Regions from separate parts of the Homo sapiens genome. Here regions 2, 3, 4, 5, 6 and 7 are each linked to region 1. The links are contacts of gene promoters, found by promoter capture Hi-C in blood cells and fetal thymus (Javierre and others, 2016). All regions are on one chromosome and are shown on one strand. Each heading gives the region's core, a stretch centred on a gene start or on the middle of the fragment in contact. The rest is flanking DNA. Distances are from core to core; before and after follow the strand shown.

Region 1 (4,254 bases), core at 441-2,940:
TTCCAGAAGAACCTTCCCTACCAATGGAAAGAAGCTACTGCATACCACACAGCAACATCTGCGATATGGTCATAAATTCCGCAGTGTTCCCAAGTTGTAATGAAGAGTTTAATATATGTGCTTTTTATTATTCTACTAAGAATATATCCTAATTCAACATGTGCGTGAAATTTTCACATGTTCGTGAAAACAGGAGCTCTCATACTTGATTGTGCATGGGAATGTACAGGAAATTTTAAAACAGCTAGAGAGTCTGATAAAATTGGCTTGGAATGGTCTGGGTAGCAACATTGTTTTATCCTCCCAAAGATTCTAATGCACAACGATAGTTGAGAATCACTGGCATAAAAGACAGAAAGAAGACTGTAAGATTCATGCTATAGTCAAAATAAAAAGAATGGGAGGAGTGTCTTCATTCACTGTTAGGGTTTTGCCTACCTGCATGGCTACAAAGTTCTAAGATACCAATAGATCCCAAATTTAACTGCAAGCAAGTGGTTCCCTAAAATCAGTGACCAACTGCATGATCATACTTGGTGTCTGAAGCCAATTGCAGCAAATATCAGCAACACTGTTCCAAAGCAAAGATTCTTAACCTGAGGATGGAATTCAGGTGATCTGTATAGGAAACTCACATAGGAAAATAAGTTGCATCTTTACTTTTAGTAACATGTCACAGAAGTTCAACATGTCCTTCCCTTATGAGCACAGGCAACAGAGCACAGTAGTATTGGCAGTTCTTGATAATTTGCACCCACCGGTATTTTCATGTCACATTTCAGTTTGGGCTATTATCTCAAAATACCATTTGCAGACATCACTACTTTGACATTACTGTTGCTTAATCGGCCTGCTGTTAAATCAAGCTATTTAATGCAATAATGATGATGCACCTGTGTTAGTTACTATATCACGACTTGAGGACTTCCATAATTGCATTCCAATAAAACTGATTCTGATTTAATTGTATTTTATGCATTTCACAACATTCTTCTGAGAAACAGTCTAATTGCTTTACCAGAGCCAGTGTGGTCCGTAGCACAGGAAACGGCGAGAGCCGGCTGGAGGACCGTGCCCTGGCACATTTGCATCGCAGGCCACCCCCAGGAAGAGCGCACCCTGACCAGAGCTGAGTCTTGTTTTGCCCTGCATTTCCGCAGATAAGATTTGGCCTGAAAAGCAGTTCAACTCAGCGGAGAATAAGATGGGCTTTCTCTTTCTCCTCAGCTGCCTCTTTCTCTTGGCATTTTGGAGTGCCCCGACTGCCAGGCCGGTAACTCGAGCCTCCAAATTAATCAAAACACACAGCACCCAGTTAAAGCCCAGGCAGACAAGCCCAGGAGCCAGACGCGCTCTCCTCTGGTGACCCCCGGGCCACAACTCCCCAGCTGGGCCCGCCACCACCCCTTGAATGCCACGCTCCCTCCACTGCCCCTCCCAGGCAGGTGCCGGGGCCCCGGGACAGCGGTTGCCCCACCTATGGGCGCCTTACCTGTGGGGACGCCCGCAGCGCCAGGAGCTGCCGCCTTGCCACCCCACGGGACGCGCACCTCCAGCCCCAATCCACCCGCGCCCCGCTGCCTCTTCGCGGCGCTCTCGCAGCCAAGCCCGGCGGCCGCAAGTTGGAGGCGGGCTGGAGGCGGGGAACGCGGACCGCCGCGGGCGCGGGGAACAAGCGGGGCCTCCCGAGTGCAGACGCCCGGCGCGCCTCCCGCTTAATCTGGGCAGGGCCGCTGGCCACTCCCTCCACCCTGCGCAGCCACCTCCCCACCGCGCAGCCACCTCCCCACCGCACACCCCCAAACGCCCCACCTCCGACCGCACCCCACTTCCCCGCCTGGGCCCCCGGACCTTGGGAGCATCACCTCCTTAACCCCTTACCCTGGATCCGCGCCCACCTGCCCCTCAGGCGCCCAGCCCTTTCTCGCCTCCTGGGCACGATGCCCGGGTAGAAGGGACACTGCCTGGTAAGTTGGGAGGGAGGGGGTATGAGGGCGGGACCTGAGCCACGTCTTCCCTCCCTTGAAGCCACAACCAAAAAGCCTGGGTGGGGAGGGACGAACCGCGCGACCGAGCCCTACAAAACCCGCCCCGGCCGAGTGGCGAGGCGAGCTTTCCAGCCGGGCTCCCAGAGCCGCGCTGCGCAGGAGACGCGGTGGCCTGAGAGCCTGAGGGTCCCCGGACTCGCCCAGGCTCTGAGCGCGCGCCCACCATGAGCGCCCGGACCGCCCCCAGGCCGCAGGTGCTCCTGCTGCCGCTCCTGCTGGTGCTCCTGGCGGCGGCGCCCGCAGCCAGCAAGGTGAGTGGGGGCTGCGCGACCCCCACCCCCGCACTTCCATCCCTCCTCCACGCGTCCGGGGGACGCGCTGGCCCCACCCGCAGCGGCGCGGTAGTGGAGCGGCTGCCGGGCTAGTGGCGAGGCTGAGGGCTTCACGCAGGTCCCGGGACAGGCAGCGAGCGGAAGGGAGCAAGCGGGGATGCCCCGGAACAGGTGGAATGCGCGGGGCTGGGGGAAGAGGCGAGGAGGGGGCTTGTCCAGTGCCTAGGAGTCAGGGATGGCGGGGACAGGCCTCCAGAGGTCAGTAAATTAAAAAATAGACACATAGATAATCGCCAGGGATGATACGTGAGAACACCGGATGTGGAGATGCACGGTGTCACGCTGGTGAATCAAATCAAGCAGCTTGGCCCAGCGCACAGAGGGCTGGCAGGAGACACCTGCAGGGAGTCCCAGCCGCCACTTCCTAGCTGGGACGTCACACTAAACCCTGACCTCTCTGGGGCTCAGTTTCTTCCTTGCAAAACTTGCCCTCCAGTTTTCCTTTGCTATTGTTGGGAAAAGCAAATGCTATCACTGAAAAATTAAGAGCACCTTAGAAATCGAACTCAGGTTAGAATCATTTAAGCAATCTGACACTTTGATTTGATTTTTGACTTGGAATTTGAGTGAAACTGGATTTATTTAAATCCATCCCATATTTCTTATTCTTTGCCATTAAATAGAAATTGATTGTCCTCAAAACGATTGTGCCTCCTAGAGTTGACTCACTTGATTTTACCTTGTGAAAGTAAACTTTAACTTTTCAGATACTTGTTATTTTTACACTTTAAAAAGTTGATTTGGGTGATAACGTGGCATAGGAAATTTCATTTCCAAGGATGAGCAGATGTTTTTACAAATGTTATCATTGAGATTATGATTGGAAATTAACGGTCACATAAATATTTATATATGTTACATGAAAAGAATTTTAGAACCTATGGTCACATATAGGTTCTATATGTTTTTCCTATTTAAATTAAATGAAGACATTGCAGACATTATAGGTGAAACTAAAGCCCTCTCTGACACCCCCCATACCTCTCCCCATTTCCTTGTCTTCCAAGAGGTGTCCACTTTCACCACTTTCATATTTCATGTAGTTTTCCAAACATTGTCCATGAATTTACACACACACATATGAACCCACAAACATATATGTATGTTTTTGTTGGCCTTTTAACATAAATGATACTGTGCTGTATTCCTTTGCAACCTGTAGACCAGTCCATGTCAGTATTTAAGATCCTCCTGTTTTTCTTTTTGCTTTGTTGCACAGTATTTCACAATATGCCAAAGTTAATTGAACCATTTCCCTATCAGTTTACATTTAGATTATTCACTGTTTCACATTCTAAAGGACATTTGTAATCTATGTAATCTGTTTGTGTAGCTGGTTCTAACAAAAATGCACTTTGCATACATTAGGAATTCCCAGACCAGGTATTTAAATGCTACTAGGCATGATAGATAAAACTCAGTGGGGATTATCTACCAGCTTTAACCAGGACAAATAAATCCAAAAAAGCAAAATCCTAAAGGAAATGTGTGTTGTGGGGAAGCCTGGAGAAGAGATCCAGAGCAGGGTTTGCACATGTTTCTGAATTTAGAAGAACAGGAATGAGATTGGGAAGGGGTGGAAGAATTGTACTTATGTGAGGATCAGCCTGAAAAAGTAATGCTTGGGGACCATGCAAACTCTAGTTATACCATTTTCAATTCTGTTGTTACATTCCTTTGTTATTTTTACATGTAAACTTTTCTGTTTTGAGTTTGGCCAAATCTTGGTGACTTCTTGCTGAAATTAATCCATTTGTATTGTTTTTCTCATCACTTGAAGTAAGTCTTTCATTAACAAGTTTTCAGGATTATCATTTCCAGTGTACCTGCTGGGTTAGAGAGAAAATATGCCAGTAAAATAATGAAATGTGCCT
Region 2 (4,254 bases), core at 538-3,037, 1.9 Mb before region 1:
GGTTGCTAATCCTGACAAACGCTGGTAGGAGAATGGGGAAATGAAACGAGGACAGAAGAAATCCCCTAAGTGTGCATTTTGAACAGATTGTCAGCACAGACAGGTGAACTTTAATCCCATTACAGAACTGAGAAATTCAGAGTTATCCCATCTGCAGGACTAGAGAGCTGGGCTCATTACTTACTCTTGTTATTCCTTGGCTGGGGGTTGCAAGAAGAGGTGACTTTTACCAGATGAAATGGAGAAAGCCCTTGGGCAAAGAGATGCAGGTGCTGGCCTTTGGAATTGTTCAAATTTCACTGAAATGGTTTTGGCTGAGAGGATAAGGTAAAATGCCGAGGTTTCTCTTACAAGATAATTTAGTTTTTCCCTCATCAATGAGTGAAATCATTTTAACTTCAAGTTTATTTACTGTCATTATTTTTCCTACCAATGAACTTTTTAGTTTCCACCTGGTTATTCCTTTTTTTTAAACATATACATATATATAGATGAGTTCTCACTATGTTGCCTAGGCTGGTTTTGAACTCCTGAGCTCAAGTGATCCTCCTGCCTCGGCCTCCCAAAATGCTAGGATTACAGGTATGAGCCATCAGGCCTGGCCTGTTAATTTCTTTATGAATTTTAATGGAACATTTTGAAATAATGCATTCTTTTTCTCTCATATTTTGTTCATTACATTTAACAACTTCCTTCTTGAAAAGACCTGTTGAATATTTATGTTTTAAGTTAGTTTTTTTAATATTCAGTTTTATAATTTACCTATAATTGATATGGTAGAGGTATGGTTACCTTTTATTTTCAAAATACTCAGACAACTAAGACAAAACATTTTATAATAATATATTTCTTCTATATTGTTTTGAGATAATTTTTAACCTATATATTTTTTAAATGTTTATATAAATGATAGAATGCCTTCTTCCATAATAACTTTTTTTCCAATTGTTTTCTATCATTGCCTACATTTTTCTTCATGCCTCAAGTTCTAGGTAAAATTTAGAATGATTTTGTTAATATAAAGTATCATTGAGATTTTGCTAGACATTGCTCACCCCAATATTAGACTCACACAATAATTTAGCGAGAACTCCCATCTTTTTATTTCTTCTTTTCATCTCCATAGAATCATATCTTTCTTTATGACATCAGTAAAGCTTTTCTTCTGTAGTGTCTTTCTAGGCTTTTTCATATCATATTTTCGTAAATAGAATCTTTTGGGGCTTAAGGCGAGAGGTAAAATATTTTGTGAGATGCCGTGGAAAAAGATAGGGTGAAGGAGAGCCTGGTGTTTCTCTTGGATAATGGTCCATGGTGTTGTGAACAGGAGTGGTGAAAACAGAAATGGAAGGAGCTGTTGCCTTGGGTAATTCTGAGACAAAGACCCACAGCCAGGTATGTTTTTGTTCTAGTGACAGCATGCAACTGAGAGAGAGTGGGGAGGGTCTGTGCATCCCCAATCCTGGCTGACCTCTCTGCAACGCGGGCTCCTGGGAGTTAACATCTAGAAGATCTGTTGCCCTGAGGGACAGAGTCTGTGGCCAGGAAATAAGTCATGATGTGGAGTGGTGCCTTCAAGGGGCTACAAGAGGGGTGGCAGTAGTATTGGATGCAGAAGTTAAGAGAAAGTACTAAAGCAACAAGGTTGGAAGGTTAAGAGCAGTTATTATTAGCTGGGGAGGTTCTGTACTATAACATGAACAATTATTTTTTACTGGGTTTTGGACGAACAGTATTTATCATGTCCTGAAAGGGTGCTTATTCCAAAACAGCTTAGGAACTTTTAATCTAAGGGCAGCTCTCTGGGTAGACATAATAAGATAATGGCCTTCATGCTGACATTTGAGGGGTATTTTAATTTTTTAATTTTTTATTTTTTAGAGATTGGAGTCTCACTGTGCTGCCCAGGCTGGCCTCCAACTCCTGGGTTCAAACAATCCTCCCTCCTGAGCCTCCCAAGTGGCTGAGATTACAGGCATGTGTCATGCACCTGGCTCGAGGGGTATTTTAAAATTTTCTGCCAGTGCCAATAGAAGTTGTCTACTTTCCCCTTCCCTACTCAGGAATTTCCTGTCATTCTACTTATAGAAAAGAAACAGGAGAAGAATAATCACAATCAAGTTAGTAGCATCACAATCAAATAAAAATTAAAGCCAGTTAATAAAAATTAATATAAGCTAATGAATGAATATCTTCCAAAGAGAAGGACATTCAGTGAGATGCTGTACAATGCAGCAAATATTTCTTGCATGCCTGTTGGGTATTAAGCATTCGTCTAGGAATGGTCTGATTTTTTTTAACTCTCTTTCAAAAAAGAAATAAGCATTTTTCCTTTCATCATGGGTCATCACAGGTAATGCAAAATAAATTTCTCTGTACAATATCCCTTAGCAACTCCCTAGCAACATTCAAATGAGCAAGCTTTTACCAACGGGGTTCACAGGACAAAATTTTAAGAAAAAGTAGCCTTTTTTTGCCACTAAATCTTTAATTTTAAATGTTTTACAAGAGAAATAATGTTTCATATGAAGGTTTAAATTATTAATTATCAAGTGCTCCTTTCCATATTAACATCTAGCATAATATTGTGAACAATAAAAGTCTGTTGAATAGAATCTTATTAAATATAGTAAGTCTGGGAAAATCTGGAAGAAACATTACTCTTCTTCTCTTGAGGTTCATGATGTCATTTTCTCTCCTTTTCCTCATAGATGACACTTATCTAATTTCTAATTGTTCCATCTAATTAATTGGAGATTTGACTGCCTGAATAGATTCTTGCCCTCTACCTAGGAAAATTTAATGTTCTTGTTTATAAATCATCTACTACAATAGCTTGGAACTCCATTTACATGGTTTTCTCTCTGTGCTTCAGCTTCAGGCTTTAAAAACTAATGAAATAACTAATTAATTAACTAATCTAATGAAACAAAAACATCCTGAAACTTTTCCTCATTTTCTATGTCACTAATATTAAATGTCCACATTTTAGACTCTGACGATGGCCTCCTCTTCTTCTAAAATTACTAATGCTCATGCTATGGATTGCATGTCTATATCCCTCCACAAATTCATGTTAAAATCCTAACCCTCAATGTGACGATATTAAGAGATGAGGCTTCCTAACTAAGGTGGAGCCCTCATAGATGAGATTTGTGCCCTTATATAAAAGAGACCCCAGAGAGCTCTTTCGTTCTCTTTCCGCCATGCAAAGATACAAAGAGAAGGTGGCAACGCAGAAGAGGGCCCACACCAGAACCTGACCATACTGGCACCCTGATCTTGGACTTTCTAGGTGGCAGAGCCATGAGAAATATATTTCTGTTGTTTATAAGGCCTCCAGTCTTGCACCCTGCACTGACCAAGACAGCTCATATTCTATCTTTTAATCCAGTGGTGTGGCAGTAGACTGGCTCTCTGAAAAAAATAAGGCCCCAGTTTGTGGTGCTTGCTGATTTCCAAGGCACAGATATTCCCAACAATGCTTTTTTCAAGCTACCCACATGAGGTCATTTAAACAGTTGAAAAGAGAAGTGCACAATCAACTCTTGCTAGTTTCCTAGGCTATGGCCTGCCTCTCTACTCCTCTCTCCATTTTCTCTGTCTGAAAGTGCCTGTATATGGCTTTCCTCTTCTGTCTTCCAGTCTGGAACTCTGGTGTGAGGACATGAGTTTACTCCCTTAGAATCTCTATCACCAACCTTCGATCCTTTCCATCTAATAATACCTCTTTCTGGTATCAATACAACAATCTACCATTTGACTCAAATTGGATTTCTGGGAGGACTGTGAACCAGGACTCAGCTGGGTGGATTGGAAATTGATAGATTCTACTTGCCATTGGGCCCTCAACACTACTGATCCAGGCAGGGTTTACTCTATTGATTCTTCATTTACTGAGCACTGAAAACCTCAATTTCTCTCCTCAGACCACTATCCTGTCCCTCTACCACCATGAATGCTGAAAACCTTGGCATTAGTATAGGCAAGAAAATGGAGATCTTTGGGAAGTAAATCAACCAATCTCGTAACCTGACCTCCCTCAAATTTCTTCCTCACACACCTTTGTCTACTTTGTAATCTCCAACTGCAGAAGGTATTTTTCATCCTGAATGAAGCCAATTCCTTCACCTCTGCTCATTTCCCTGGCACTCGCATCTCTCGGGAACCTCCTTCACCAGTGGACTCCTCTCCATAGCCATAACTGCTCCCTCCAGATTAAATCTCTTCCTTCAGTCATTAAACGTTCTCTGG
Region 3 (4,254 bases), core at 491-2,990, 1.7 Mb before region 1:
TTTGACCTGTGAATTTAAGATGCTGCTAGAGAATCCAATCATTGGGAAAAAAAATAAGAGATTCAGCATTATGGTGTTAATATGTTTTAAAATTGTACTAGCAGATGTGATTGAATATTGAGGGAGAAAAATATGTTCATATGTGACTTGGGAACAGTCAACGAGTGGGAGCCAATGGAAAAAACAATAGGAAAAGATTGAAAAAGGAACAGGAGATATTTGAAGAAAGAGTAAGAATTACAGCAACATAAGCTTCTCTCTACTCTTCAGCCAGAAGAAAAATCTGGTTATAAATCCACTGCCACCAAATCCATCCCTTTGAATTTGGTATAATTTGCATGAGAAATTCTTATTCTTATAAAATCAGGTTAGTGACTCTTAATTTAAAATATAAGTTGTCCTAAATTAACACTGTACCTCAGTGAATTAGATTATGCCAACACGATCTACTTATTAAGTGAATCTCAGCAAGAATATTTAATGAAAAAGGTCTAGATGATTTGAACCATCCTAAGTGATCCATTGAAATAGTTAAAAGGCACTGTTTCTATATGCAGACCAAAAGTCCTTTAATAAAAGAGTATGACATGCCAAAAGTTCAGCATTGCATGGTACCTGTGGTCCAGCCAAAATAATAACTTCTAATAGCATTTTTGAATCGGTTCCAATGCATTGTGAAAATGCTTAGAATTCCAAAGTACCATAGTTTTTTTTTTTAAATCCACCAGTAATTACCAAAGATATTTGCATTTGCAGTCACCTTGTATATTTTGTGCTATGATTAGCTTTTTCTTAAGGACAAACTTCAGACGATTCAGAGGTTAAATTTAGCTAAATTGTTAGGATAGGAAAAACATCTAAATTTTTTTCTACATGTAATTTCATCAAATTTGTACCAATGTGATTCCCTTTCCCCAGTCCTATTTTCTTCAAAGCATCTTTCTTAATGCAAAATAGTATTGCACCTCCATATTCCTCTCTTCAATTTTCAAACAATCCCAAAGGTGAATATATATTAAGAAATTCTTCTACTTCTTTTACTTGTCTACTGACGTCACTGGACTTTACCAGCCAAGTAACTTTGGTAAAAGTTAAGTCAATCAAAGTATGTATTACTTTCTAAGGAAATCCAAACTTCTGTAAATCTGTGAATTCCTAATGTAGACAATTGTTTCTGGCAGCCTGAGACATTTTTAATTTTTAGAAAATAATTTTTAGAAGGTATTTCATGTTAAGACTAAAAATTCAATAGATATTATTGAATGTCTACTACATGTGGGTATCATGACAGGTGTTATTGGGAAGAGTGGGTGTGGTAAAATTCTAGAAAGAAAAAAATGATCTCCTCCATCTAAGATTTATATATGTATACTAGGGGAAGATAGATATGTAAATGAAAGTCTGATACAAACCAAAATGTACTGTTAAAAATTGGAAGCATAATGGAGATATGAAGGAGAGAAAGATGAAAACCAAGTGGGTGAGTTTAAGCTATATTTCTTAACTAAAAGGGCATTTGAGCTAGCACTTGAAGGAATGTAGATAAGTGAACTTCATTCAAAATGGACATGCCGAGGAAGGAAAATAGCATAAAGGAATATTGAGGCACAAAAATGCAGGCTTCATAGAAAGGCGAGTATTTGCGTGATTGGGACATAGGATATATTGTGAAGCTGTGCAAAAGTGGTTGAGGGTATAGCAAGAAGGATCTTAAAGGGAAAAATAAAATAAATGGTCAAATAGATTCCATTGAAGATATTTAAGCAGGAGAATTACATATAGGAGCTGTGTTTGAGAAGATGACTTAAAACTTGTATACTATGATCTGAACAATGAGGAGACAATTTGGTTTTCTTTCTTATATAAATGGTTTTTACATTAAAACTAGTTGTTTTAAAAAATAGTTGCTATACTTTAGTCCAACAACATGATCCATGTATCCAGATATTTTCAGAATTAACTATCTTAAATTGAGAGTAAACACCCCTTCTGCTAATTTACAATGTCTTTGATGTAATGACTCCCTAACAATTCAACAAGAGTCTCAAGAACATAACTTTATATTTTCCTTCCCGTTTCTGCCTTAAGTTGACATCTCTTTGAAATTTCAGAATCATTCTTAATGTGTTCCATGAAATCAAAGGGAAAACTCAGAGAAATGTAGGATGATGACTATTGATCTCTACTGTTTCTTTCTTTAAAAAACCTTTTCCTCAGAAATATTTGTCAATTAAAAGTGTCATCCTGTATATAATTCATCATCTCTCAAGAAGCAGTCAGGTTATCCATGTACTTTTTATAACTCTACTTTTATCAGTGTTTACATCCATGGTCAAATTCTCTTCACTAAATGGTCAAATTATAATAATAATTATTTATTTTCTCTATTAGTTATTGTCAAAATCTAATGACTGTTGTATTTGTTAGAAAATGCTCTAGGATAATAATACTCTCTAAAGTCCAGTGAATCAACACATTTTGTTACCTTTACATTTTTGTTCTCAACTTCAACATTAAGTTTGAACATAAAACATATTTACTTATTCACTTTTTGACCTGCTAATAAAGAATTTAATTGATCATGAACAACCACATGGAGAACAAACTTATGGGACCGGTTACTAATTTATTAATTTTTCAAACTCAGGTTTTTTATTTAAATTAATAATGTTTACCTGTGAGCTACTTCTCTCTTGCAAACAATAATATGAAGTAGTATTTCTTGAAGTTTGAAAAATCACTGAATATTTTATATATTGAAAGCCACAAATGCAAAATAGATGAAGTTTGTGACATTCTGGGTCAGGGTGGGCCTTTGGGAGGCAAGGTTCCACCCCCTTAGGCATCCATTTATCATTTATTCAATAAATATTTTTGATTCCTAGTTTGGTCCAACATTGTGCTAAGTGCTGGAAATAAGAATGAGGAGGCAAACCCAAGGCCCCTGCAGTTTGTGATTTAGTTGAGAGAGAGACATCAATAACAACAACAATTTCAACAACAAACACACACACACATACACAAATAAACATGCAATGGCAACTGTGATGATTAACAAAAAGCAATGTGACATACACTTATAGCATACTGTAATGAGAGTAGAATTAAATGAAGCCACAGTATACAAAAATATCTTATTTTTACATATAATGCATAGTAATAATTCCTATTCCATTATATTCTATTCCTTTAACATAAAATTCTACAGTGACTTGATTTAAAACCCTTTAAGCTTCACTACCTGCGATTTTACAGAAAGCTCCATTAAAGTTTTTTCATTATAAAAACATCTTCCTATCTGATTTTGCACATAAAAATGTGGGGCCATTTTGTTGGGCTGCCCTCACCTCCTTTATTCATGTGTGTGAGATGAGTGGTCTGAGAACAAAAAGGATTGGTAATAGAATGGTGCCTGTTAGAGTAGTGTACAGTGTGGCTGCTTGCAGGTTCCTCTGCAGTGTTTCCCTTAGTCTTAGCCTTTGTTGCCACTGTTTCATCAAAAATAATATATTCAATATTTCTTTTCTGCTTCACTATGCCAGCAATGTTTAAAGGAATACTAAAAGGAAAGTACTGCTACTAATGATGGGTCACTTCAATAGAAAGAGAGTGTGGGGTTTCCCGAAGGCTTCTGAAATGCATCTGTTTACCCCTTTCTCATTCTCTCCTTACTCAAATGCAGCAGAAAAATCAAACCTTCCAAAATGTTACTTGATGTTCTTGCTGCTCCACCACCACAGAGCCTATTTTCCTCACTGTCACCTCCTTCTTTCCCTTCTAGGATCATTAAGTTTCCTCTTCTAGGTCTCTTAGCTGGATTCCCTAGGCAGCTCTTTTCCCCAGCCAGCCCTACCCCAAACAAACTCCTTGGGTAAACAACTGTGCAATCTTACTGCTAATGCAAAGAACAACAGAGTGGGAGAAATGGAGAAAATGGTATACGGAGAGAAGACAAAGCCCATGGATCCATTATTTCAGGGATTTTGTGGACTGTTCAGGACTTCTTCAGACAGCTGGTAAATATTGTACTTCTTTACCAAGAAGAGACTGGTTTGTGTTTTCGTAAGAAATATGTTGCTATAGTGCACCTGTTTGAATATTCTGTACTGGTAATTTATATCCAGGTGATGAGTAATGTGAAAATCTGTCATTTATTTTAAATTGTTTAAAAAATTAACTAACATAACATCTATATATTATAACACTGTATCATATACTTAAATATGTTTTAAGAAGGTAGATCTTGAGTTAAGT
Region 4 (4,254 bases), core at 1,298-3,797, 1.6 Mb before region 1:
CAGGATGAGGTTAAATAGAGTATAAGTAAAATTCCTTGATTTTGAAAATTCGTGTGACTCCTTGGTTAATTGGGACCATGACATTGTCTGTTTTTCTCATTTAGTTTATCCTAGAATTGCAATATAGAATCACTGAAGAAGACATAATTTCATAAATAATTGCTCACCTTTCTGGGGGTAGACCGCAGCTGTCCTTGATTGATGCAGGCAGATGTGTTTATCCCCCGTGTTTATATTCTCTGTCTGCTGAATCTTTAAGTGCAATTTCTTGTCACCAATTTAATCAGCAATTCTCTCCATTAAGAAGAACCCTACCTGCTTTAGATGTATAAAATGCAGAAACATTTTCAATTCAGAAATTAAGTTATACCAGTCTATTTATTTAAACCAAGATTCCCTCAGTAGTATTTAATTTTATATACATGAAAAATACTAGAACTGATTTTTCCCTCCTGTTCTGTTACTTGAAATAAACATTTAATTTCTGTTTTTTTAGAGACTATCATGTACTCTTGACACTTTGAGAACAATAAGTAATTAAATATTCAGTATAAGTGAGTTCCTACTGGCTACATCATGTTACCCTCAGTGTGTCCCACATTCTAATTAAATATGATCTTGAAGTCTAGCACAAGGCTGGATGTCACAAGAGGTGGTTTCCATTAACAAGCTTTGAGACCTTAGATAAGTCAGTTTGCCTCTTAGTGTCTTAGTTTTCTCACTTTTCAAATGAAAATATTAGATGCTAAAACTGAGTCCCTTCTGGCTTGGCTTCTTGTGTGGGGCTTCTGCAGATTACTGGCTGATCTGTAAATCTCCAAAGGGAGGACCCCCTTCCTCCTTCTGAGACTTTCCTTCTGATGTTGTTCTCCCTTGCTGAAAGGACTTCGCCAGAAACTTAATGAAAAAAATGTCAGCCTAATCCTTGACTCCCAACTCAGTCTACCAATTTCTCCATGGTGTTTTTCTTATGCTATTGTCTTTGACTACTTTTTTTCAAATTTTTGAATGATGTAAGACTTATTCCAATGCATTGTGAAGATTATTTCTATCTGATTCTCTCTATTGAAACAAAGGACCAGGGAAAACAAGCTACAAACCTTTTCATCATTTTACTTTTTGTAATACTTGATCCAATACAATCTTTCCCCAAGTTGGTACATGATAAGTATTTATTGAACTTGTTGAATTAATAGGCACACTTAAGAAGGCTATTGAACTTTAGGGAAAAAAGCCATATAAGAAATGTTTGACCATTAAGTGAAAAAACAAAAATCAGCTTCTATGTTTGACTTAGAATATTCCACATTAAAATCAATATAGTCATTCAGCAAAAAAGCAGCTATGCTGAATGCTGAATCATTGCTTCTACTCTTAAGTGGCATGTTTGAAAGAATGGCCATTCCATTCCAGGCAGATTTATTGGAGGGAAAGATATAAAGAATATGCCCATCAAGCATTTAAATTTGGACCATTTTGTAAGGTCAAATCATCATCGGTTTCGGTACAAATGAATGAGCTGTGAAAATTGATCTCTTTTCTATGTTTGTAGAAAGAAAGATACCTTTTTCAAAAAAAGAAAATAACATTTTAAAGAAGCAATTTCAATCTGCTTAACTTATGCATTATTGATCAAAAATTGTAAAGACAATAAAAACACATTCAATGGCCGGGTGCGGTGGCTGATGCCTGTAATCCCAGCACTTTGGAAGGCTGAGGAGGGCATATCACTTGAGGTCAGGAGTTTGAGACCAGCCTGGCCAACGTGGTGAAACCCTGTCTCTACTAAAAATACAAAAATTAGTTGGGTGTGGTGGTGGGTGCCTGCAATCCTAGGTACTCAGGAGGCTGAGGCAGGAGAATCACTTAAACCCGGGGGCAGAGGTCACAGTGAGCCGAGATCGTGCCACTGCACTCCAGCCTGGGTGACACAGTGAGACTCTGTCTAAAAAAAAATAATAAAATAAAATAAAAACATTCAAATAGGTCATTTAACATCTTTGTTGGAAAGACATTGCATAAATCCACAAAGCTATCATTATGTGACTCGCGGTCTTGAATATGTGTGTTCCCTGGTGAAAAAATGGATTTTAGTTATAAAATATTTGAAAAGCTTTTCTCAGTTTTTGATAAAATAATTTTTTTTGGAATTCAGTAAATGGATGACAATCCCAAATTTAATTAAATGTCTGTAGTGGTGCATGGTATTTCTTGGTAGAAGCAAACTCATTATTGTTGTTGCTGGTGGGAGCTAGGTTAATTAAAAGTTCCACTCCTAGCAGAATAACCAATCAACTGAAAAATCTGGGCTATTGCTATTTCCAAATGGAAGAAGTAAAAATATTAAGGAATCTAAGAGGGAAGTAAGGAGTATTAGTTACATGGATTGTAAAGCAGCGTGTAAAGCTGTAGCTGGCTAGAAAAGAACCCAGAACAGCTGAACTGAAAGGAAAAAATTCCAATGCAGAAGTCCGTAATATTCTTCTGATAATTGATAATGGAGGAAAAACTTTTCTATACATATTCTACTACTCAACTTTCAGTTATATTCAATAAAATAGAATTTTCCTATGTTTTGCTTTTCTTTTCGTAGATGGAACTGATATAATAAAGATAAGAAAGAATAAGGATGAAAAAACAATAGCTAGAAGCAGTCATAAAATAGAGATTGGGGTATTCATGTGTTGTCCAACGTTAGATCCAACCATAGTGCTATGGGTGGATAATTCTAATGCATCTTTTTGTTCCCATGTCACAACTAAGAAATCTAGATCCCCAAAAACTAGAAGGATGAAAAAGGATTTAGTTGTTAGTAGCCTGCAACAGAATGATCAGAGCTGAAATAAAGTACTGCTCTATTTAAGTTACACATTCTGGACATCCAAATTGTGTCTATATCTACAAACAACTTTCATTCTTTTGACCATTAGTTATTAACCACTTACCAATAATTAATGACAAGAGATATGTGTCAAACAAATGAAAGCTTTTTGTCAATGTTGAAATGGTCAAAGAGAAGTTTTAAACCTAAGAAATTAAAGCAGATTACCTCACAGTTGTTTTTCTTTGGCTAATTGATAATCTCACTTGTAGCCTGCAGAATTCATTTTGGCATCTGAACCAAGCTGTGTGTATGGCTCTTTAATATAAACCATAATCAAATTGCCCACTGATGTTTCATAAAACAGAAGCTTGATTCTATGTCCAGCCATAGTTCTCCATTTAGCTTCCATGGCCAATCCACTTAAGTGAATGTGCTGTACTTGCTGCCTCCATTTCTTCTCCCTCATTCCAGCCTTAATTTCCCACAAACTGGCTTCCTCTTCTACTCACCCCAGAGTTACATGAGGCTTCCTAATTGGGCTCTGGTTCTAGCATTTTTCCTCTCCTGATTCTTTTAAACCTTCATGAAACATCTGATATTGTTGATTATTCTATGTAAATAATTCCATATATTTTTTTGAGAGATGGGCTCTGGCTATGTTGCCCAGGCTAGAGTGCAGTGGTGATTCACAGGCATGTTCATAGTGCACTACAGCCTCCAACTTCTGGCCTCAAGCAATCCTCCTGCATCAGCCTCCCAAGTAGCTGGGGCCACACTCTTGCCTAACATGTTAAGATTTTTCTGTTTATTTCCATGCAATAGGATATCCTCATTAGTAATCATTTTAAAACTGTGTCCCTTCTGCTTCCTTTTTAAGGGAACTCTGCTCCTTCATTTTTATGAAAAAGTTCTTCTGACATATGACTGACAGTGTTGTAAATGTGTGTTTAAATATTTGCCTCCCCCACTAAATTATTAGGACACATACTGAGTCTTTTTTATTGCAGCAAATAGCACATTTTCTGGCATAAAGTGTATGCTCAGCATGTGTTCAACTATTTGAGTGAACAAATATGCATCCGACCTCCCCAATTAAATGGTAAGTTTTTGAGGGCAGGGACAGTTTATATTTTTTGTAAATTTCCATGGTCCCTGTGACTGAATTTTGCATAATCAGTTTATATTTGTAGATTTATTGATTTTTCTAAAGCTAATTTTTTTTAAAAAATAGCACCATCCAATAGAATTGCCATGATTAACCAATATTGATTTTAATCTGAGCTTTGTAGAGAATGCCAAGATCAACAGTAGTTAAGATATTTAGGAACCAAATGTTTCAAGGAATATCAATGGAGAATCCAGGTTTAGATTATTCTTATACATAATACTGAAAAGAGAAGTCAGTCCCATTACTGATTGGGGAAAGCAAG
Region 5 (4,254 bases), core at 738-3,237, 1.5 Mb before region 1:
GGTAGGTGGTGACAAGATAGCAAAAGTCCTGAAGGGCCTTGTTATTAATTAGAAAGCCTTTTAGCTATGAAGTATAAATTACCAGAGGCTTAGCAAATAATAGCCCTTGTTTGCACCCTTAGCATCAAGCTCCGAGGTAGGCAGTTCCAGGTGTTTTGCAGCTGTTCAGGGACGTCAAGGACCCAGGAACTTTGTATCCTTCAGTTCTTCTGTTCTGCTACCCTTGATGATTGTTTTCATGATGACAAAGCTGATGGACTACACAGTTCTGGGCATCATACCTCAAAGATTCTCCATTTCATCTAATTGGTCAGAACTGGCAAACATCTTGTCTGGTCCAATCTCTGAGTGAAGGAAAATGGGATTTCCATGGGCTTGTAGAGAACCCTTTTTCCCCTAAAGCAAGGGTCCTTTGCCTTCCATCTGGAAATGAAATCAAAAGCCTATTAGCAGGGATAAAAGGGGAATGATGTTGCATAAGCAGTAGATGGTGTCTGCCATGTAATTAGGTTTTTAAGTTTATGTGGTGGATATTTGGATATTTTTGTAGTTATTTACTATTTTTTAAGGATAGGGATAATGTAATTCAGTTTACATCATGGAACACCCAATGATGACTCTGTGGCTTTAAACTTGGGTGACTGGGAAGTCATTTACTGAGATAGAGACTGTCAATGTGAGATGCGGAGCAAGATTTACGAGGGAAAGTCAGGACTTACAGTTTGCTTATGTTAAGTTAGAAATGCTCTGGGACATCAAATTGAGAAACCAGTAGATTGTTCAGATTATAGATCTGTAGCTAAAGAGATTTAGTGGATTCAAAACTGAGACTAGACTCCTTTGGCGTGGTTAGAACAGTAAGACTGGATGAGTCTAAACTAGGAGAGCAGGAAATTCAGATGACACCCTGGGGAAATCCACACATTTCAAAGTGTGGGTAAATACATAGAAATGAAACAGTTAGATAGTCCATAATTAAACTTTTTTGAACACTTAGTAAGTTACATATAGTTTGATAAACATGTACCGTACAGTGTCTTTACACTTTGATATGAATATTCTAATAAATTCAGAGTGTAAACAGAATTTATACCATACTTTCACTTTCTTCCATATCAAAACCCCAAAGCATCTCTTTTGGTTTACAGCATGTAAAATCTGCCCTCCTGAGGTTTTTAGTGTTGTTTGTAGAGCAGGAAATTGTCTACTGACCAGAAGAAATGACATACATATTTTTAGTATGTATTCTTTATCTTAGATTATGAAGGAGGTAGGCAAAGATGGAAGAAGACATAAATTCTGTTAAGTTTTAAATAATGAGATGGTTGTATTCATATTAGAAGAAATGCAAAACAGAGGGGCAAGTGTAGAGTTACATATATAATGTCAGTGCAAGCCAGTTGCTTATGTGAAAGCGAAACTCAAATTAATGTTACCATTACTTGAACCTCTAGTCTACCCTTCTACTACTTTTCAGGAAAGAAAAGGAGAAAGGGAAAAATGTTGTGTTGTTAGCTTTTATTTTTCTGAAGAGAAAGAACCTAAATGGTGCCAGTTCTGAACTAGAAAATGCCAAAAATGGCAAAAATGTATAGAGTATCTGAAGTTCACACTCACCTTTGGTAGTGTTTTGCTTTGTTTTGTTTTGTTTTGTTCTGTTTTTGAGATGGAGTCTCACCCTGTCACCCAGGCTGGAGTACAATGGCATGATCTCAGCTCACTGAAACCTCCGCCTCCTGGGTTCAAGAGATTCTCCTCCCTCAGCCTCCCGAGTAGCTAGGATTACAGGTGCCCACCACCATGCCTGGCTAATTTTGGCATTTTTAGTAGAGACGGGGTTTCATCGCATTGATCAGGCTAGTCTCAAACTCCTGACCTCAGGTGATCCACCTGCCTAAGCGGCCTCCTGAAGTGCTGGGATTGCCCGGCCACCTTTGGTGTTTTAAGCAAACCATGCACTACTTGAATATTCATCAATGAGATGGTCTCTGTCCAAAATAAGCAAGTAGGTACATCAAGAGGGAGTTTTAGACTTTCTGTTTTGGAACAGAAGACAATGAGTCAGTATTAACTGTTTCTCCTCCTTCTCTTTATACTTCCTCATCATTGTTGCCTCCTTGCCCCTGGGTACTCAACTTCCTACCTCACACTAGAGAGGAAAGAAGATTCTACTTATAAACCCCTCCTTCCTCTGTCAACTTTCTGCTTCTGCGTCTATTTCTCTCTGTCCCCCCTCCACACTGATATACATACAAACTTCTACCAGTCACAGGCTATTGCTTTACCAAAAGTAGTTTAGCCACTTGAAATGGTTGTTCTTAACAGCTCTTTTGAGGAATGAAGGAATTGCTGAAGTAAAGCAAATGTGTCAGGAGATCTCAATTCTAATTAACATTAACACTGGTTGCTGGGGTACTTCGTTAAAGTCACTGTTGTTTAGTAAATCACAGATTCCCCACAGGGTGATTCTTGAAGGCAGTGGAGAACTGGGACCCAAATGCTCATGAACATAATAGGAAAGCGTGAGGAGATTATACAAGTAAATATGGTATTGACAAAAACTCAGATTTCAACCACTGAACCCATTAACAAATAGTTTCCACACAGCTTGTATCCAACTCTGTTATGGTTTCTGGGGACACACACACCTACCCCCCACAGACTGTAAAATACAATCTGTGACCCTCAAAAATTTTACTATGTTTCTTTATGACACAGAACTATTGAACACAAATTAATTAGGTTATAATTAAATGTATTATTTTCATTATTATCTACTGCTTACTATACGTTTAAAATCATTCAGAGAACAATTAATTAGTGTAGGCTTGAAAAATGATGGAGAGATTAATGGAAGACATGGAGTCTCACATCAGGATTATTCTAGATCTTCTTAAAAATCATTATGATTATCAATTGAGTGGAAAGAGAATATTCCACATGGGATGAAAAAGGTGAAGAGACACACCTGCCCTGGCTTGGCCCTGCTGGGCCACCCTGACAGAAGTGTTTTTGGAAGTAAACTCAGCCCTTGGCTTATGAACAAAGTGGTATCATACCCACACATGCACACAGACATATATAGGCAAACAGGGTTTATAGTGTAACATTTAAATCTAAAAAGAATGAAAACACTATAAAGGGAAGGATCAGCTATATTATAAAACCCTTGGTTTCTGCGTGTTCAACTTTCTGTGCTTCTGCTGTTCTGAAAAGGTCTAAGATGAGATGCTAATTGAGATGCCTTCAGGACAGACAGGTATCATTAGCAAGTGAAGCAGGAAAGATGCCTTCCTTCATGTATTTTGCTTATACATGAAACACTTACAAATGTACTTTACTCCCACAAAGGAAAATGTTTTTCCCACTTTTCTTGAAACTTGAAGCCCTTTTGTTCTAAGTTCTATATTCCCACATTTGTTAGAAGCATTGCTAAGGAGAAATATTTCTCCATTACAAGGAAAATCTATTGCAAGCTGATGCACCTCAGGACTCAATGATGGAAATGCAGGTGACCTGGAAAGCATAGGGGCACCCCAAGTGGACAAAAGCTACTCAGTGCCAGCTGATGCTGCCATGAGAAATGCTCACCCAGGGTTCCCAGATTTAACTGCTATTATGTGAAATCTCCCAACTTTTAAATGTAATTCAATTTTTAGAAAACAATTGAGTAGAATAATTCACTTCTTTTAGCTGGGTAAGACCCGAAGACCACACACTTGCATTTTCTGGTTTGTAAAATCAAGCGATGACCATTAGGTGGAAGCATGGATTTGACCCTGTGGCACAGAGAAGCTGCTTTCTACTGGAAGCAGTAGGTCCCAGTAGATACCTTGTCCTCCTGGCTTTTATTTTCCAGAAGCTGCTGTTCCTGGACAAGGAAATGCTAGCAATAGCAACACTGGTAAGAGAGAGACATGCAGCCTTTGATGGCCAGGGAAGGAAGGGGGAATTCCTTAGCACTAAAAGAGAAATAGAGGTTTAGAATTCCATGAATAGTGAGGGCCAGCAGCCTAATCCTTCATAGCACCCTTGCAAAATGGCACGACCTCTAACTGGCAGAGAAGTTGGGTGGGGTAGAGTTTGCATAGGCTGGGCTTTATGCGCCATATGGTTTTAACCTTCAAAATATGGAATTCTGTACTTCAAGGGGCTCTTTGTGCTCGAACAGTAGACCCCTCACGTGACAACCAGTATGAGCTAAAGACTAGGAGGACCATATTATATATTCTGCTCTGCAGAACGGTTCTGGGA
Region 6 (4,254 bases), core at 1,305-3,804, 1.5 Mb before region 1:
CTGATAAATGATATCACAGCACCCTCTACGTCTTCCTTCTAACATATTTCCTAATTTTTGGCAAATGATTTTAGGTTTAATGTCTCTCCCCTGAGAATACATAAACGTCATTAGAATATGGAGTCTCCAACTCCTGGGCTCAAGTGATCCACCCGCATCAGCCCCACAAAGTGCTGAGATTATAGACATAAGCCATTGTGCCTGGCCCATCATTTGTTGTTTAATGTCTATGTTTAGTGCATAGACTGTGCAGTCCCTTAGGGCAATATTGGGATTTTGGTCACAACTCTCTGGCAAGTTCCTGGCACATAGTAGGCATAAAATACATAGATGCCGAATGTTGAATAAGTGACTAAATTCATTTTATTTGAGAAGAACTAAAACTTGAATAATGAAAACAATTGTTTAAGATCATACACCTAGCAGAGTCAGATTCAAAATTAGCTCTAAGTCCAAACCTTGTTTATTGTCTTTTATTGTTTTCCTCTAAATCAGAAGTACAGAGAAAACACTATTTTATTTGCCAAGAAAGAAAACTATTAGTTCCCTTAGGAGAATAATATTAATAGAGAGGTGAAGCATTGTTGAATAGGTGGAAACAGGACTGAGAGAGGAAAGGTGCATATGGGTGAGAGTGTATGAGTCTGTGTGTAAGTAGGCGTAAGCTTACTCATTCTGTGTGTCTGCATGTTGTGTCTGAGAGGGGTTGGGAGTGGAGGAGTGGAAGGCAATTGATGGAAACTGAAGTTGGCAGTGAACCATTCATGCAATGCAGATATAGTCAATGCTTTTCTCTGAAGTGCGATTCATATAGAAATGGCATGAGGATAGTGCACCTCCCCAGCGTGAGCAACACATTTTCTTTTCTTCCAACGGAATTGGGCACATTCTGGCTCTCTGGCACGCGTGTCAGTTCTCAGTACCGTAGTTATGTCATATTATTTAAAGCCAGTTGTTCGATGAGTTTAATTTTTAGGTCAAGTTTATAAAGAAAGGCTTTTTGAAAAGCACTTGTTTATTTATTAGGCAAAGACTGGATGTGGAGAACCTTAGGTTTCTAATTTGTAAGTTGAGGATATTGATAGCTAACTCCGTAGCTCCAAAGAGAGTTCTTAGGATTAGAGATAATTTAGGTGTAACTCCTCACAGAAGCTGGAATGTACTAGGCACTCAAAAACCAACAGCTTACACTGAAGTTTGTGATAAAGTATAAATGTCCATTTTTCTTTCTATGACTTGTTTTTCCTTTGTCAAATATCTTCAAATATGTCTTTAAATTAATCATCTCTACCTCCCAAATATCCTGTACTTTCTGGATGAAGGGAACTCTTTCAGTCCTCAAACTGTAATCTCTAAAGCATCCTGTCAGTGGCCTAGGCAGCTAATTTGGGCTCCTCAAATTAGAGAAGAGGTAGGAGAAAGCTTTTTAAGTTGGAAAAATAATATTATGAAAGATAGTAAAAGTCTTGGAAGACAGTTATAAAATTTAATGAAAATCAAGATGAGTTGAAGAAATGTTACATTGAAAACATGATGATAGTATTCATGGAAGGAAGGAAAACAGAACATTTGGAGAAGGGATAGAAGACATTTTAGGACACAGAAATCCTACGGATCAAAGCTAAAAGTGAAACATTCAAAATAGTCATGGTACTTGCTTGTTCTCCTAATGGGTTGTTGTTGCTCCAGGGATGACTCCATAGAAACCAACCCTAAGTGAGGTAAAATGTGCAAAGGCACAAGGCCTGTGCTTCTGAGAGTTGTTCCCCAGAAGCCAATCTGGGTATAAAGCTCCTTTTAGAGTCAACTGCCATGAAAGTGTTTTATCACCTGCTACTTATTAGCAAACATCAGGAGCATTTTGTATATTCCAAGAATAAGTAGCGAAACAAACAGAAAGACTGAAAAGCCACTTCATTATTCCAGATGTCAGTCAGCTAATATTGTGTCTTTTTCCGCTTGTTTCCAGAGCCTAAAGTAAGCTGCAAATTAGGCCGGTCTGCGTCGACGTCAGGTGTGCCTCCTCCATCAGTCACTCCCCTCAGGCAAAGCAGTGACCTGCAACAGAGCCAGGTACCATCATCGTTAGCCAATCGTGATTGACTTCCTGTGATACAACTTGCCAAATGCTTCCCACCTCTGTCTGTCCTGTTGCTGTAGACAACTTTCGCATTTGCTTTTATTTTTCTATGTGTGTATGGGTTAGGGGATGCGGGGGATGAGTTCTGGCAGTCTGTGTTTTCATTTGAAAAAGAATATCTTTCTTCCTTGTGATTGGTGGTGAAACTTTCTTTGCTGTTTGTTACCAAATCGTTTTTGTCTCTGGTTTCCATCATTCTGTAATATAAATGTAGTAAACTTGTACTATATGTATTGGCTTAGTGGTTCTTTTTTAAATTCTTTCTCTCTTTCATGTTTTGTGTACTTTTATACTGTCTCTGAAAATTTATCAATATTTGATAAATTTATCTACTTTGTTTTATGTAGATTTCTTTTTAAATGTTTTGTCCAGAACACTCGCACAGATGTTGTCAATGAATTTGTACATATTTCTTAGCTCTTATCCTATTATACTGTAATATTTCTGGTGGTTTTATTTTTATTTAGCTTGGAGCATGACTGTAAGACACTGTTGAATATTGATGTCCTTATAAATATTCATATCCCGATTCATTTGGATTGAGTATGGCAGCTAGTCTTTCTTCTTTCTTAGGCTATTGACTGGCCTAAGACAATTTGACTGGCCAGACAAATTGACTGGCCAGATAATCTAGATATTTAACAAAAACTGCAGATTAATAAGGCAACCTTTAAATGAATGACTTTTCTCTCTTATACCAACAATATCAGAAATGTTCTCAGAAAGGGAATGTAAGTGTTCATGCATGGTAAATGAGATCTCAATTATCACTTGGAGAAAAGAGACAAGAAATAAAGGCATAAACTGAAATATCATTTAATCCTTTACAGCATAATATGTTGCTCTGATGTTCGTTTGGGTACGTGGTTGTGGATGGGGAATTAGTATGGGGAAAAATCACTACACATAAATGTCCTATCTTTAGCTCACCCAATAGGAATTCAATACATTGACTTAATTTGTGAGGCTTAATTGTCGTTACTGTTAAGTATTATAGGTGTTAAGTAGGGTGGTGTCATTCTGGAATGTTTTCTCTCTGCTTCCTAGCTTCAATCTTTGCATTCATGAAACTCTTCTGAAATAGCAACTTATAAAACACTGATGATACCTCCAAGGGAACTGCCCATTACTGATGAGAAAATTACATATTCATCTATTATTTTAAATGTCAGGCTATTTTAAAAACATAACTAAGTAGAATAATTGCGTTTTCTTCTAATGAGAGACATTGTGCCTCTTAGTGTTTTTGTCTGACTTAAATATGCAAAATAGTTGATTTATAAATATATGAGGTATCTGCAAATACAAGAAATGAGAGGCTTCTCTCAAGGGTATCTCAAGTACCATTTAGAATTTCTTGTGTCTTAATTTAAAATTTAAATGCCTTTATATAAATGTTAAATGCCTTTATAACTAAATGTACCAACTCAAACACTTTTTGGATATAAAAGAAGTAGAAACAGTAAGACACTGAATAAAATAAATAAGATAAACTGCCAACTTAGCTAATTAAAGCTATTCCAAAAATATTGTACTTACCAACATTTAAAGCTTAAAAACATTGGGTACTGAAAGAAGAGAAGTTTAGCTAATTGGCAGAGGATTGCACTAATACAATCAAGTTTTCAAGTTTATGACCCTTGCTAGTATATTACCTTCAATATCTCAGAGATGTTTTGTATTATTTGTTTTGTTTTGCTTTTTTCCTAGTTGTCTTTATAGCTGTTTCACCCTAAGCCCCTTCAAACTCTCAATGAAAGCAGGTTCTTGGGATAAACTTCCAGAATAGAGACAAGGTATACCCTTTGTGCCTTTGCATTATCAACTCTTTGTTCACCTGATGGGAAGTTCTTCGTTTTTCAAAATGTAGCAAGGGAGAAAGCCCAGGACGCCTTTATATGCTGTTAGTTTCCTTACCTGCTGATAGAGATTCTGACACACAGTCAAATCATACATGGGCTGTCAGAGCTATAAATTAGAAGGCTGGCCTCTAGGCTTCTCCTCTGTGGCTTATAGCCAGTTGTAATATACATGCATTCCTATACTCTAGAGATGAAGTGGTAAGCATAGCTCATATGAACACTGCTCTGAACTCCTCTGACTTAGCATTCAAC
Region 7 (4,254 bases), core at 939-3,438, 1.5 Mb before region 1:
ATGTTTCTTATTTGGACCTTTAAAAAGTACTAGATTCTTAATCTTTTCAGGATTGGGAGGGCCTGAAAGAAAAAGATCTAGCTACCTTAATAGAGATTCTTTACAGATACATATTCCCCCCCCTCCATGCCCCCCCACCCCCCCAACACACACACAGAGGACAGCTTTGCAGGACCATTTCAAAATACAGCAAAGAAACATGTTTTGGGGTAAAATATTTTGACTTTCTTCTTTGTCATGTAATGTTATGCCAGGGTCAGATTGGAAAGTAAGTCACGGTATATAGGGTTAAATAAAACCATTCTGATGAGAATTTATGGTTTGTAGGGCATGACTCTCCAGACCCGTTAGATAGGAATTTGTGCAAGCTAAAAAAATCAGAGCTTAGTCCTCAGACTTCAGAATTTATAAGTTGCCTTCCTGTATTCAGCCAACAAATTCTTGTTGTGTACTGCTAAACACCAGATATTCTGCTAGATGCTTGAGTTTGAAGATGGTTGATATGACAAACTCCTGTGTTCAAAGAAATTTCAGCCTGATAAAGAAGCCAAATACGTGTGTGTGAATATATAAATATAAATATCATATATATTTAATAAGAGTGGGTGGGAGGCCTTTACAGTCAGACATAAGACAGTTTACAAAGGAGTGAGAAGTCTGAAGTCATACAATTTGTCAGAGAAATGCAAGCAGTTTAGCATTATAGGATTAACAAATGTTGAGGTGGGAAAAATTGTAGAAAAATGATTAGGGGATGAAGAGCATGTGGTAATGCTCTGGGAGAATTAGGAACCATAAGCATGATCATTATTACTCCCATTTTGAGGAAGCTGATTCACGTAGAAAGTCAAGTCAACAGAAATTTGCTAAGGAGCTGTCTCCTTTTAATTTAAATTCTGATTCCCTGAGATCATCTCACTTAAGCCTCAGATGACAGGGGGATTGTAGAAGAGAGCCCTTCCCTGAACAATTAGCATTACAAAAGAGGGCATTCTTAACCCAAATGAATCTTCAATGGATAGAATACCTAAGAGCAATCATTTGTTTCATATTTTCCTTTTGAAACTACTTAATAGAGATACCTTAATAGAGATGCTTTACAGATGCACGGTTGGAAGACTAGTATAATGTGTGTGCTTTTAAACACATACAGTTTTTTAAAATAATGTCACTTCATTTCTGAATATTTGAACATGACTATCCTAAGACCGAGTGTATTCTTCTAAACAATCAAACTCAAAAAAGCAGTCAGGTAATTTATAATAATTCACTACTACCTACTATCATCTAATATAAAGGGAATCCTCAAATCTCTACAAGGGCCCCAATATTATACCCCTCCCCAGTCTGGGATCCAATCAAGGATACGACATTACATATAGTTTTCAGTTTCTTTCTTTGTTTCTCCAAATCTCCTGAATCACAAATACTTCCCAACCTCATTAGTCTTTCAAGATAAGTGACATTTTCAGAGTCCAGAACGATTTTGCTTTTTTTCCAGAATGTCCCTTTGTCTGATTGTTCTCTTGTGATTAGATTTGAGTTCACCATGCTTAGCAAGAAAACTACATGTGATGACCTTCTCCAAGAGTCACACAGCAGATGACATCAGTTGGTTTCATCACTGGGACTGATGTTTGAACACAACATCAATAAGACTCTCTCTAGATTTGTCTACTCTATATACTCTGCGTACCAGGAGACTGAGGCCATGGGGGCTGCCTCAGATTTTCCATTAGAGGATCAGATCAGTGGATTGAGTATATTATGTTTCTTGTATTTTCTCTTAGAAAAAGAAGAAATCTAATTATGTTTTATCGATGTCTAAATATATTTGACCTAATGTTTTCTCATGTGACCATCACAACAGTCCTGCAAATCATAATCATTATCCCATCTCTGATGAGAAAACTGAGAAACAAAAGGCCAAGTGAAATCTCAAGTTCACAGAGTAATGGCAGATCTCGGCCTTGAACCCCTCTCTTCTTACTCTCAATGCACTGTCCTTTCCTGTGTGTGTGTCAGCTGCACTCTCCTGGGTATTATAGAGCAAACACATACTGAAGATTTCCTGTGCAGTTCATCACCACTAGAGGGAGGGAGAGGATCTCCAAAGTTAACATGTCTCCATTCATTTGGGCTAGAAATTACTTGACAAGTCAAACTATTAATGTAAGGTAATTACATACACAGGAATAAATAAAGAAAAAAATTGTGTCCTAATTGGTGTCCCCTGCTTTTTTTTTTTTTTTTTTTTTTTTTTTTTTTGCTGCTAATGGCTTAAAATTGATTGCATATGCATTAACTACAGACGTAATAGAGGATGATTAAGGACAAGTATGAATACCAAAAACTACATAATGAATGTCTGACTCATATTTTATTTACAGTGAGGTTTCAGGCAGGAACATGAAGTTGGCTGTTCTTTTACAATGTATGTTATCTACCTGAGGCATAAAGCATGTGGTACATGAACATACAGAGCAGATGTTAATTATTACTATTTTTCATGACTCTATCTCTTTCTTTTTACAAAAGAGATCAAAAGTCATTATGGCACGTGAATTTGGCTTTTATTACCCTGTATTGTTTTAAAATGAAAGGCCTTAACGTAGGTTTCTGCACATCACGTCTCTACCTACTACAAATAAGACACCATTGTTTAATTCATCCCTTAAAAGCTCATTCGTATGGACAAAAATGGGCAAAGCTAATCTCTATATATTTCAACTGATTATGTGTTACAAAAATAAACCCTAACTAGAGATAAAACTGGCAGCTTACATTTTCAACAACTTATTTTTCTTGATTACAATTTAAAAAATCATTTAGTGAGAAAAAAAAGGAAGAAAGAAACACAGTATTGTAATGTCAACCCTATGAAAACAAATATCCAGAATGTTCTGGGAAGAGCTCAGTTTGTTCTATAATTTGAAAACCACTGGGAACTGCTAAAGTGAATAACAAAAAAATCAAAATTTTATTAATATTTAAAATGCTGAAATGGAGAAAATTCAAAGTAGCATTCAGTTCAGTAGTAGAAAATGTGTAATTGTGTTAGACTTTAAAAAGAGAAAAATAACAATTTTTATTTCCGTTCTGTCCAGCAGTCAGATGATGTGCAAAGGGCAAGAAGGTTAAATAAATAGATACGATCATTCCAAAGACTCAAGTTGTTTGAAAGCAGTGTGAGCACACCTCCTCCAAGGAGAGTCGGGTTGTTATGAAGTACACCCAGGTTGCAGCGATTCACCTTACATGAGGGGAAGATGAAGAGCTCTTCAAATGAAGAAATGTGCTTTGCACATTCTGGCCCACTAAAACACTTTCTGCTCCAAACAGAAGTGGTATTTGCAGGCCCTACTTTGGAAGGTTTTATAGATAGGTCATGATTACTTCCTCTGACCAAATCCATTTTGTACAATCTTGCTATGGTTCTGTATCCTTGGCCTTCACAGTTGGTGTACATAGATGCCAAGGAATAAAAAGGATAACAGCCATCTGGTTCTCATCTCAACCAAAGAGGCAGGTTTAACTAGAGGAAATGGGTGCATGCTCGTGTGTCAAGTTATTTTTATTAGACCTGAAAGCAGAACCCTGGAATGTTGTACGGGGAGAGGTCATGCAATCTTTCCTTTGGAGACCTTTAAAACCACAGTAAATTTCCATATTGGTGAGATGATAGTAGTGTGGTTCTGCCTAAGAGAAAGGAAAGGATTACTAAATGAGTCTTTAGGCCATTTCAATGTAATTCTGCAGGAAATTCTAAAAAAGACCCTTACAAATTAATGGTCTTGGTTATGATTTTTATAGCCTTATGTCACCACAAAGGGGTGCTATTGCATTAGTTTATGTCCTTCCTGGGAAAACGTCTTCAGTATTTTCCAAAAAAAAAAAAAAAAAAAAAAAAAATTCCTACATAGGCTTTCAGCAATCATTTTGGCAGCATCAAGCAGTAATTCATTGTTTATCATGTGTTTTGGAATGACAGGGATCTGTATTAAAATCAATATTGCTAAGATTTCTTTGGATTGTTTACAGGCATACCTTGGAGGTATCATGGGTTCAATTCCAGACCATGGCAATATAGTGAATATTGCAATAAAGCAAGTCTCAATAATTTTTTGGTTTTCCAGTACATAGAAAAATTATTTTTACATTATAATCCAGTCTATTAAGTGTAAACATTGTGTCTAAACAATGTACATACCTTAATTAAAAAAATACTTCATTGCTAAAAATGCTAACGATCAT

Evidence for each region. The method cuts DNA at HindIII sites, captures the fragments that hold promoters and counts their contacts. A CHiCAGO score of 5 or more calls a contact.
Region 2: a fragment that was not itself captured here is called in contact with the fragment with the promoter of COL4A4 in region 1 in 2 of 17 cell types (M2 macrophages and M0 macrophages); the score reaches 6.8 in M2 macrophages.
Region 3: a contact is called between a fragment that was not itself captured here and the fragment with the promoter of COL4A4 in region 1, in 1 of 17 cell types (M0 macrophages). The highest score is 6.2, in M0 macrophages.
Region 4: a contact is called between a fragment that was not itself captured here and the fragment with the promoter of COL4A4 in region 1, in 4 of 17 cell types (M0 macrophages, monocytes, M2 macrophages and 1 more). The highest score is 7.5, in M0 macrophages.
Region 5: a contact is called between a fragment that was not itself captured here and the fragment with the promoter of COL4A4 in region 1, in 4 of 17 cell types (M2 macrophages, M0 macrophages, M1 macrophages and 1 more). The highest score is 9.5, in M2 macrophages.
Region 6: a fragment that was not itself captured here is called in contact with the fragment with the promoter of COL4A4 in region 1 in 3 of 17 cell types (M0 macrophages, M2 macrophages and M1 macrophages); the score reaches 11.3 in M0 macrophages.
Region 7: a contact is called between a fragment that was not itself captured here and the fragment with the promoter of COL4A4 in region 1, in 3 of 17 cell types (M2 macrophages, M1 macrophages and M0 macrophages). The highest score is 11.2, in M2 macrophages.

The regions. Positions count from the first base shown.
Region 1 is chr2:227,162,515-227,166,768 of GRCh38, forward strand. COL4A4 (collagen type IV alpha 4 chain) reads right to left here and starts at 1,691. Exons shown (of 48, transcript NM_000092.5): 1 at 1,493-1,691. COL4A3 (collagen type IV alpha 3 chain) reads left to right here and starts at 2,110. Exons shown (of 52, transcript NM_000091.5): 1 at 2,110-2,299. The coding sequence starts at 2,213. RefSeq lists enhancers at 1,018-1,919, 1,194-1,293 and silencers at 1,564-1,943, 2,164-2,343. The HindIII fragment of the contact is 7,891 bases long and covers 1-4,254 here.
Region 2 is chr2:225,276,310-225,280,563 of GRCh38, forward strand. No RefSeq gene overlaps it. Among named protein-coding and RNA genes, the nearest start is that of NYAP2, 120 kb to the right of the region's middle. The HindIII fragment of the contact is 1,264 bases long and covers 1,156-2,419 here.
Region 3 is chr2:225,478,943-225,483,196 of GRCh38, forward strand. The region is part of intron 3 of NYAP2 (neuronal tyrosine-phosphorylated phosphoinositide-3-kinase adaptor 2); the gene reads left to right. Among named protein-coding and RNA genes, the nearest start is that of NYAP2, 81 kb to the left of the region's middle. The HindIII fragment of the contact is 2,980 bases long and covers 251-3,230 here.
Region 4 is chr2:225,592,575-225,596,828 of GRCh38, forward strand. The region is part of intron 5 of NYAP2 (neuronal tyrosine-phosphorylated phosphoinositide-3-kinase adaptor 2); the gene reads left to right. Among named protein-coding and RNA genes, the nearest start is that of NYAP2, 190 kb to the left of the region's middle. The HindIII fragment of the contact is 873 bases long and covers 2,112-2,984 here.
Region 5 is chr2:225,630,173-225,634,426 of GRCh38, forward strand. The region is part of intron 6 of NYAP2 (neuronal tyrosine-phosphorylated phosphoinositide-3-kinase adaptor 2); the gene reads left to right. Among named protein-coding and RNA genes, the nearest start is that of NYAP2, 230 kb to the left of the region's middle. The HindIII fragment of the contact is 8,057 bases long and covers 1-4,254 here.
Region 6 is chr2:225,649,463-225,653,716 of GRCh38, forward strand. It overlaps NYAP2 (neuronal tyrosine-phosphorylated phosphoinositide-3-kinase adaptor 2), which reads left to right. Exons shown (of 8, transcript NM_001371273.1): 7 at 1,970-2,073. Among named protein-coding and RNA genes, the nearest start is that of NYAP2, 250 kb to the left of the region's middle. The HindIII fragment of the contact is 2,269 bases long and covers 1,421-3,689 here.
Region 7 is chr2:225,666,720-225,670,973 of GRCh38, forward strand. The region is part of intron 7 of NYAP2 (neuronal tyrosine-phosphorylated phosphoinositide-3-kinase adaptor 2); the gene reads left to right. Among named protein-coding and RNA genes, the nearest start is that of NYAP2, 270 kb to the left of the region's middle. RefSeq lists a silencer at 1,984-2,033. The HindIII fragment of the contact is 4,763 bases long and covers 1-4,254 here.